3 separate regions of the Homo sapiens genome follow, and all the other regions are linked to region 2. The links are contacts of gene promoters, found by promoter capture Hi-C in human tissues and cell types (Jung and others, 2019). All regions are on one chromosome and are shown on one strand. The core of a region is centred on a gene start or on the middle of the fragment in contact, and the rest is flanking DNA. Distances in the headings are between cores, read along the strand shown. Region 1 overlaps ARHGAP44 (Rho GTPase activating protein 44). Region 2 holds the start of ARHGAP44 (Rho GTPase activating protein 44). Region 3 overlaps ELAC2 (elaC ribonuclease Z 2).

Region 1 (2,953 bases), core at 288-2,787, 140 kb before region 2:
AAAGTGACTACAAACACTAAGTAGATTTTTATGGCTTTGTAACTCAGGATTAAATTTTTTAAAAAACAGAATCATACTAAATATAGGTATATTAAAATGAAGACATTTTCCCAAGTTCCTTCTTTTCTTTTTATTCTCATCTATTTTTTCCTCCAGATTTTATCCTGTAGTCAGTATCTTGATGCTTTAAAAACATATACATTTCCCCTTTTTATAAGAAATTTTATTTACAATTTACAATGTTATATATATAATATATATGTATGTATAATATATATGCATATATAATATATATACATATATTATACATACATATATATTATATATATTATATATGTATATATATTATGTATATACATATATATTATATATACATATATATTATATATATACAATATATATTATATATAATACATATATAATTTTTTTTTCATATCAAGTCTCGCTCTGTCACCCAGGCTGGAGTGCAGTGGTGCAATCTCAGCTCACTGCAACTTCCACCTCCTGGGTTCAAGCGATTCTTCTGCCTCAGCCTCCCGAGTAGCTGGGATTACAGGCACATGCCACCATGCCCAGCTAATTTTTGTATTTTTAGTAGAGACGGGGTTTCGCCATGTTGGTCAGGTTAGTCTTGAACTCCTGACCTCAGGCCATCCACCCTCATTCGCCTCCCAAAGTGCTGGGATTATAGGCGTGAGCCACCGTGCCTGGTCTATTTTGATATTTTAAAACAGTGACAAGATGTCCAAAATATGTTCTCTTTGTGGAACATAAATAGCAAACAAAATACCAAGGTAAACTCTTGTCATGTGAACAGACGAGTTTTGTACAGATACTCATGCTGGAAAAGGTGACATGAATTTTGTACAGATAGTCATGTTGGGAAAATTTTGTACAGATAGTCATTTTGGGAAAAGTAACACGAATTATGAATTTCAAGGTTTGGTAGTCTTTTCAGACCTCTGTTCTACACATAAACTCAAGAGTTGGGCTGCTCTGTCAGAGGAGAAACAGGAACACTAGACATTGTCCAAGGAAACTTTGAGCTTTGAAAGTTGAAGAGCAGAAGGATCATTTCTTCTCACTAAAGTAGCTGATGTACCACCATCCTTCTCTGGGGAAAGAGGACTTGTGACTATGTGATCTGGGGGAGATGAAGATGGGACACAAGCTTTAATGAAGCCTTGGGAGAGATGAGAGAGAAGGGAGAGGAATAAGGGTTTAAAATTTCAGGTACCAGGAATATGTAAAGAAGGCAAATGCAGGTCAGTTCAGGACAACAGAATGTCCAGAAGAAGAATTTTAAAAGGCAGACAGGAGAGTGTCTTCATTGGGGCATTCACTGTTCCTTCTGTCTAGTCTTGCCCCTTCCTCTGCCATGGGCATCCCCCACTTTTTAAGTTCCTGCTTCCACTCTGCAGTAATGTGTGGTCAAAAAGGGGACTGCCAGGTTCTGCATGACCCAGGCAGTGAGTGGCCCAGGTGAGGGCCTCTGATCCAAGTCAAGCCTGTGCCATCCTTCCTCACACTGACCCAACTGACGAGTCATGGAAGTGGGCATATGAGCAAAGTCCAGACAAATGGAGTCCCTCTTTGGCACTTTCGGAATTGGGGCAAAAGGAAGAGGGCTCATAGTGGGGAGACATGAGCCCATGCGACATCCAGTGACCTTGAAGAAATCAGATGTGAGAAAAAGACACCTGTATGGGGAGGGGTGAGAGACGAGGAATGAGTTTTGATGGCCATCGAGACTCCACTGCCAGTTCTAACAAGACTTCACACTGCCCCGCCTCCAGAATTCCACTTCTTAACTCCATAGCCTGCACAGTTTCCACTCCAAAACCCTCCTGTCTTACTTACACTAGTTCACTTGCTTCCAAAGAAGGTAGGGCTTCCATAACAAAGTACCACAGACTGGGTGGCTTAAACAACAGAGGCTTATCTTCTCACAATTCTGGAGGCTGGACATCCAAGATCAAGACAGAGGCTGGAGACCTCTATCTGTGACTTGCAGATGGCTGCTGTTTCTGTCCTCACACAGCTTTCCTCTGAGTGCGTGTAGAGAGAGAGATCACTCTTTCTCCCTATAAGGCCACCAATCCTAGTGAAATAGGGGCCCATTCTTATGACCTCATTTAACCTTAATAAGGTTCTCCTAAAGAACCTATCTCCAGATACAGTCGCATTGGGGGTTAGCGCTTCAATATACAAATTTTGGAGAGATACCATTCAGTCCCTAGGACCCAGAGGCAGCTGGTTCGGCAGAAATGGAATGTGTATGTGTCCCAGACTCGGGAGGGTTAACCTTGAGCTACATGACCAGAAAAAAGTCAGGCTGACTTTGGAGAAAAATTAGGCTCCTTCTTTAAGCACTGCTAAACCAAACCTATCACACACAAAAAAGAAATTTGCGTATCATTCAATTCAATTCACAACCTTTAATTCAGCATAAAGCGTCCTGTAAGCATCAGTTTCTCTGAGAATATTGAGGTCTGTATCATTGGCTTTTGAAGCAGACAAGCCAGATTTACTTCAATAGTGACAAACATACACATCTTATTGGGATCTAATTAAACACGAGATAAATTAATTGGATTTGACAGTATCCATCAGAATTGTGGCAGAAATTAAAGATCCAGTCATGGGACTATTGTTCAAGATGTGCTGATAATATATACAAATCTACTTCCTGTCTTGAAAGGCGGAGGGTCTCTATGTGGAATTCACTGTTGCAGTGCTGCAGAGCATACTTCATGAAGGACAGAACAATATGAAATAAATCAGAAGTAGGATGCTGCAAGGAAGAAAAACTAACCTGTGCCATTGGCTTTATGGAGAAATGCAGGGGGTAGGGGGGGAGCATTCAGAACCCAGCTGTTCCAGAAGAGGAGCTGGTGATCCCTGCTGTTCAATAGCACAGCATTTGGTCTTGCTCTCACTGCTATATCTTGGG
Region 2 (2,792 bases), core at 100-2,599:
CCCCAGGAGTAGGGGTTCCAGGAAAAATCCCTTCTACCTAACGCTCCTGTGTTCAAAGAATGTCTAGTCTTGGGAGCGACCCACCAGGATTTTTATGTAACCTTAATAGATGTTGGCACCCTGCAGAGCCGCTCCTGGAGTCCAGATGTAGCCCATTTTCACCGTGATGGCAGCAGGCGGGGTCTTGCAGCTTCCCGGGGCCTGACTCTTCTGACTGTGGGGCCTCTGTCCCCCTCCCCTACCTGGCTGCGATTCTCTGCTTATCTCATCTTCCCGAGGACTTGGGCCTCCTTTTTGCAGCCTCCCTCCCTCCACTGAAATCAGTCCTAACATCAAGCAGGCAGCAACGCCATTCCACCAGCACCTTCCTTCCTCTCCCACCCCTCACCCTTTCCCCCCACCAAACGCCTTAAGAAACCCGGCCAGGAAAGTGATCCAGAATCTCGTACAGTCATAGTCCCTGAAAACAAACACGGCGGGAGGGGCAGGCCGACCAGGCCCAGCACTTTCCCTGGACCCGGGAGCAGCCCTGAACTCGGCGCAGGGGAGGGGAGGGAAGAGATCTCCGGAGACCGACTGCGGTTCGGCTGCCTCCAGCACAATCAGAGCAAACACCTGTTTCCAGGAAGACAGGCGGCCAGAGGGAGAAGGGAGTCCCGGGGAAAGGCAGGGAGGACGAAGCGAAGGGGCAGCCGGGGACGCAGGTAAAGGATGCGTCACACTTTGCGCTTGGCAACCGGAGCCCGGAGCAGAAGGCGGCGAGTGAGAAGAGCTCCGGGGTCTGGGAAGTTAGGGAGGAGGGGTCGCGCCTGCGAGCGGCGCCTGGAGGGAGCTGGTGCAGGGGAAAGGACTGAGGCAAGGAGGACTGGAGGCTGGGCGGGCTCCATCACCTGCGCGCCCCTGCGGATGCAGCCTCGCGGGCGCGCACCGACAGCGGTGCCCGCGGGTGACCTACCTGCCCACCGTCTGGTTGGCCAGCTGGCGCATGCGATTGAACTGCTTCTTCATCGTGGCCCCGCTGCCGCGCTAGCCCGGGAGCTGGGGAAGGACGGAGCAGCCCGGAGCCCGCCGCAGGGTTACATGGCTCCCGCGCGGAGCCTCCCGGGCGACGGCGGCGGCACTGCGGAGCCTCCGGGCGCCGTCTGGCCCGCGCGCAGCTCCCTCCCGAGGGCGCCGCCGCCTACTCCTCCCGCCGCGCCGCCTCCTGCCGCATCCCCCTCACGCGCGCCGCGCAATGCCCGGGGCAGAGCAATGCCTGGGGCCGTCCTCGGCACCGGCCCGCTCCGCCCGGGCTGCCTGCTCCCAGTCCCAGTCCGGCGCGGGGACCCGGGAGTCTCCGCAGGCTGGCTGGCCGGCTGGCCCGGCGGTCCCCGTGCGCCTGTGCGGAGAACGCCGTGCATGCCGGGACTTGTAGTTTCGCGCCCCGTGCCCACCTTTCCTCTGTCCAAAGTTTGCAAGGACAGTGGAGTGCGGAGGTGGGAGAAGGCAGCGTCACCAGCAGCTTTGCACTTTAGCGTTCGAGTAAGGGAAACGTTTTCCTGTTTTAAAAATGGCAAAGTGGGACCAAGAATACAACAGCAAATAAAGAAAGTGAGCATCTGTCTCTCATTGTATTTTTAGTGAATGTGAGGTATCAGTGTTCTGAATTCACAGAAGGGAGATTTATGCTAGCAGATACGTGGCTGATAAAACGGTCTAAGGTCACCTGATTAATGATGAGGTTCAAGGTTAAGCTTGAAACACAGGGGCTGACAGCAGATTTTGAACAGGCATAGCTTGCATCCCAGAAGTCTGATTCTTAATTTTTACCAAACCAAACCCATTAGGTAACCAGAAGCCAATATAGATAAGTGACGTTGTGCTTACTGGCCCAACCTGTCTGAGACAGCTTTTTTGTATGGCTTAGATGCCAATCTCGTATCTAGTCCCATTTCCCTTCCACCACCAGGAGACCAAGGGGCATCAGCTGCAGCACCCCCCAAGTGTCCTGCACCACAGCATCCCATTGGCGTCAGTTGACTCCTTGGAAGGGGTTGTGGCTTCTTTGGTCTCTATCCTTAGAAAAAGATAGGTGAGCCGGGCGCGGTGGCTCACGCTTGTAATCCCAACAGTTTGGGAGGCCAAGGAGGGTGGATCACGAGGTCAGGAGTTCGACACCAGCCTGGCCAACACAGTGAAACCCTGTCTCTGCTAAAAATACAAAAATTAGCTGGGCGTGGTGGCGGGCACCTGTAATCCCAGCTACTTGGGAGGCTGAGGCAGGAGAATAGCTTGAACCTGGGAGGTGGAGGTTGCAGTGAGTGGAGATCGCGCCATTGCACGCCAGCCTGGGTGACAGAGCTAGACTCCATCTCAAAAAACAAAAAAAAAAGAAAAGAAAAAAAAGAAAAAGATTGGTGATTGCAGTTAGGTTTTATCATTATATATCAAGGTTTTATCATTATATATCAAGTAAAAGCAGTATTGTTGGGTGTGAGGCACTTTGGATTAAACAGATAGGAGTTCCTGCATCAGAATTCCACATACCTGTTATATAACCTTAGGAAAACAGCTTAACCTCTCCAAACCTCTGTTTCCTCATCCCTAAATAGAAAAATATGCTGCCTGATCTTCAGTAAGAGAACTATTTGTTAAATTACAATAATCAAATTACATATAAATTTTCATATAGTACATTGCCGTATTCATTTACTACAAAATGATTATATTTAGCATAATAGAGAAAAATCCTGTTCATACAACAGAATTACTAATCTTATAAAGGAAGGATCTTCTTTGAAATAGGATATTTT
Region 3 (2,889 bases), core at 41-2,540, 220 kb before region 2:
CGTCTTAGCCAGGGTGGTCTTGATCTCCTGACCTCATGATCTACCCGCCTCGGCTTCCCAAAGTGCTGGGATTACAGGCATGAGCCGCTGTGCCTGGCTATTAGAGATTTTTTATTATAATTTATCTCCAAGATAAAAGCAGTGACATTATATTGCCACATAATTGAAAAATACAAGAGAAATAAAAATCATCCATGCTTTTGTTAGCCTATCACTGTCATTGAAATATTATGTTACATGGCAGTTTGCTTGCTGGTTGCTCTGTTAGGCAACGCTCTGGTGACATTCCTTTAGCTATTAATTGAGGAATGTAGAATGACAGAACAGTGTTTCTCCTCAATGATACTTGAAGGATATTTATTAACTTTCATATTGAATTACATTTTATTAAATTTATAATGAGTTAATGCTGGGAAATAAAACACTGATTTAAGTCATTTTGGCTTTTAGTACTAAAGCATTTGACAATAAATGACTTCTTCAGAATATGGTATACCTTCTGAAAGCAATAAACGCATTTTAATGAATTGTAAGGAAACAACATCATTTTATTTTTTATTTTTTTTTTTGAGACAGACTTTCGCTTTTGTTGCCTAGGCTGGAGTGCAATGGCGCGATCTCGGCTCACTGCAACATCCGCCTCTGGGTTCAAGCGATTCTCCTGCCTCAGCTTCCTGAGTTGCTGGGATTACAGGCACGTGCCACCACGCCTGGCCAATTTTGTATTTTTAGTAGAGACGGGGTTTCTCCACGTTGGTCAGGCTGGTCTCAAACTCCTGACCTCAGGTGATCTGCCCGCCTCAGCCTCCGAAAGTACTGGAATTACAGGCGTGAGCCACCGTGCCTGGCCAACATTATTATTTTTTTTTAATCTAGAAAAATACACTTCTAAGAAAATTGATTAAAACCAACCTTCTTCATTAGCCCCTAAGATCACATCTATGTTCTCTTTGTTGCAGCTTCACTTAAAGAGAGGAAACTTCTTGGTGCTCAAAGCAAAGGAGATGGGCCTCCCAGTGTGAGTGTGGGGGGTAAGGCTTCTGGGGACTCACTGGGTACACCTGTCCACTTAAGGAAATCACATTTCACAGAGGCCTTGCCTCTTCATTTCAGTGGGACAGCTGCCATCGCTCCCATCATTGCTGCTGTCAAGGACGGGAAAAGCATCACTCATGAAGGAAGAGAGGTGAGATGCCTGGTTTTCTTGATTCAGCAGTTACAGGTAGGGTCTGAAATGCTGGGCAGAGTCTGTCTTCTTCAGGCCCTACAGACACCACTTTTGAAGGACGTGGAACAGTTTGGACATCACTCAGCTAAGTGATAAAATGGCCTCTTTTATCTGTGTTTGTCCCGCATGTCAACACGGCTGCATTCGAGCATTTTTGTAGATTGTCCATTTAGGATCTAGTCACCGTCCTCCTTAAAGGGTGCATGCTTTCCTTGGTACTTGAGCTCAGGACAGTGTCTAACAACAGACCCCATATGGATGGGCCTGGGGTTTATGGTCCAGAGGAATGCCACAGTATTCTATGTCAAGATATTTCCTCTGACTTCTGAGGACATTAGGACCAGTGGCCACAGACTGAAGAAAACCTTAATGCCAAGCCTCCTTTCCTGGCCAGTGTAGGCCTGAAGTGCCTCAACCTGACAGTTACCTGTTTAGGTATCCACAAAGAGACCAGAAGGGTGTTGATGGTGATGTGTAAAGTTGGTTTTGTGCTTTGTTTACCTCTCAGCTCACTGGATAGGATATGTCATGTTAGCAGTTGCCTTGAAGGCAGTTCAGTTTGGTGGCTGAGCTGTGACCCCCAGTGGGCGGGCTTATTTGGTTTTGCAGATTTTGGCTGAAGAGCTGTGTACTCCTCCAGATCCTGGTGCTGCTTTTGTGGTGGTAGAATGTCCAGATGAAAGCTTCATTCAACCCATCTGTGAGAATGCCACCTTTCAGAGGTAATGAGGGGTCTCTAGGGTGGGAGAAGTGAGAGCTGAAACCCAGCCCAGCATCGACATGGGCATCTTGTGGCAAGAGCTGTGTTTCTGGGAAGACCACTATCTGGGTTTACAGTTCAGAGGCCGGCACTCCTGCCTTAAGTCACTGTTGGTAGTTGGTGGGCTCCGGTGTACACAGCCTCAAAGTGAAATTAGAAAAGATTGAAAACTAGAAACAACTGAGGACTAGAAATTCAACTAGAACTCTTACAGCTCTTATACCAGAAGAAATTCTAGAACTTTTTTGAATTCTAACTAATGCCCCAGATTATCATTTGGATTATTTTGAACTGAATTAATTTTCTTCCATTACCTGCATTGAAACAAATGAGGTGGGTCAGAGTGTGTGAGACTGTCGTGGTCAAGAGTCCGTGTTATGGGATGGACTCACAGCTGGGGAATGTCTTTTGGGCTAACTGCCACTCTGTTGTTGTCCTCTATCGAAGTTAACCAGTTTTGCGGTTCAGCTTTCATTCCAGATGGAATCATCTTTGACCCACCTATCTGAGTTTGAATCTTTTCCCCCACTCTTAATGGTTTACCTGTATTTTTCCTGTTCCTAGTTTGTATCTATCTGTATTTTTTCACTTGTTTTTTTCTACTTACCACAACAAATCCTTTTGGGCTGCTGTACCCCTTCCGAGTCAGAGCGTTAGGAGTTGTTTCATGGTCTGCTTTATTCTCTGTGGGTGAATTTGGATGCGCTGGTAGCCCCGGCTTTGTATTTTAATCCAGTTTTGGGCAGCAAAACCTCTTCAATGAATCAGGTGTCATTTGAGAGCCATGTGTGGATGTGTGATGATGCTGGGATAGATAAAAATAGCTACTGTGTATATTTCTTTTTAAAGGGAACTGGAGGGAAACACATCAGCATGTTAGTAAGTGGTCTGTTGTCCAGGT

Evidence for each region. Contacts are between HindIII fragments. The study calls those that stand out against the background at their distance.
Region 1: a fragment that was not itself captured here is called in contact with the fragment with the promoter of ARHGAP44 in region 2 in 2 of the 25 tissues and cell types used here (dorsolateral prefrontal cortex and lymphoblastoid cells).
Region 3: a fragment that was not itself captured here is called in contact with the fragment with the promoter of ARHGAP44 in region 2 in 1 of the 25 tissues and cell types used here (lymphoblastoid cells).

The regions. Positions count from the first base shown.
Region 1 is chr17:12,923,843-12,926,795 of GRCh38, reverse strand. All of the region lies in intron 6 of ARHGAP44 (Rho GTPase activating protein 44), which reads right to left. Among named protein-coding and RNA genes, the nearest start is that of MIR1269B, 8.0 kb to the right of the region's middle. The HindIII fragment of the contact is 4,426 bases long and covers 1-2,953 here.
Region 2 is chr17:12,788,055-12,790,846 of GRCh38, reverse strand. ARHGAP44 (Rho GTPase activating protein 44) reads right to left here and starts at 1,349. Exons shown (of 21, transcript NM_014859.6): 1 at 956-1,349. The coding sequence starts at 1,008. It overlaps ARHGAP44-AS1 (ARHGAP44 and MYOCD antisense RNA 1), which reads left to right and starts at 563. Exons shown (of 2, transcript NR_104607.1): 1 at 563-704. RefSeq lists a silencer at 1,073-1,422. The HindIII fragment of the contact is 5,339 bases long and covers 1-2,792 here.
Region 3 is chr17:13,004,050-13,006,938 of GRCh38, reverse strand. ELAC2 (elaC ribonuclease Z 2) reads left to right here. Exons shown (of 24, transcript NM_018127.7): 9 at 960-1,018; 10 at 1,114-1,186; 11 at 1,838-1,950. Among named protein-coding and RNA genes, the nearest start is that of ELAC2, 13 kb to the left of the region's middle. The HindIII fragment of the contact is 8,331 bases long and covers 1-2,889 here.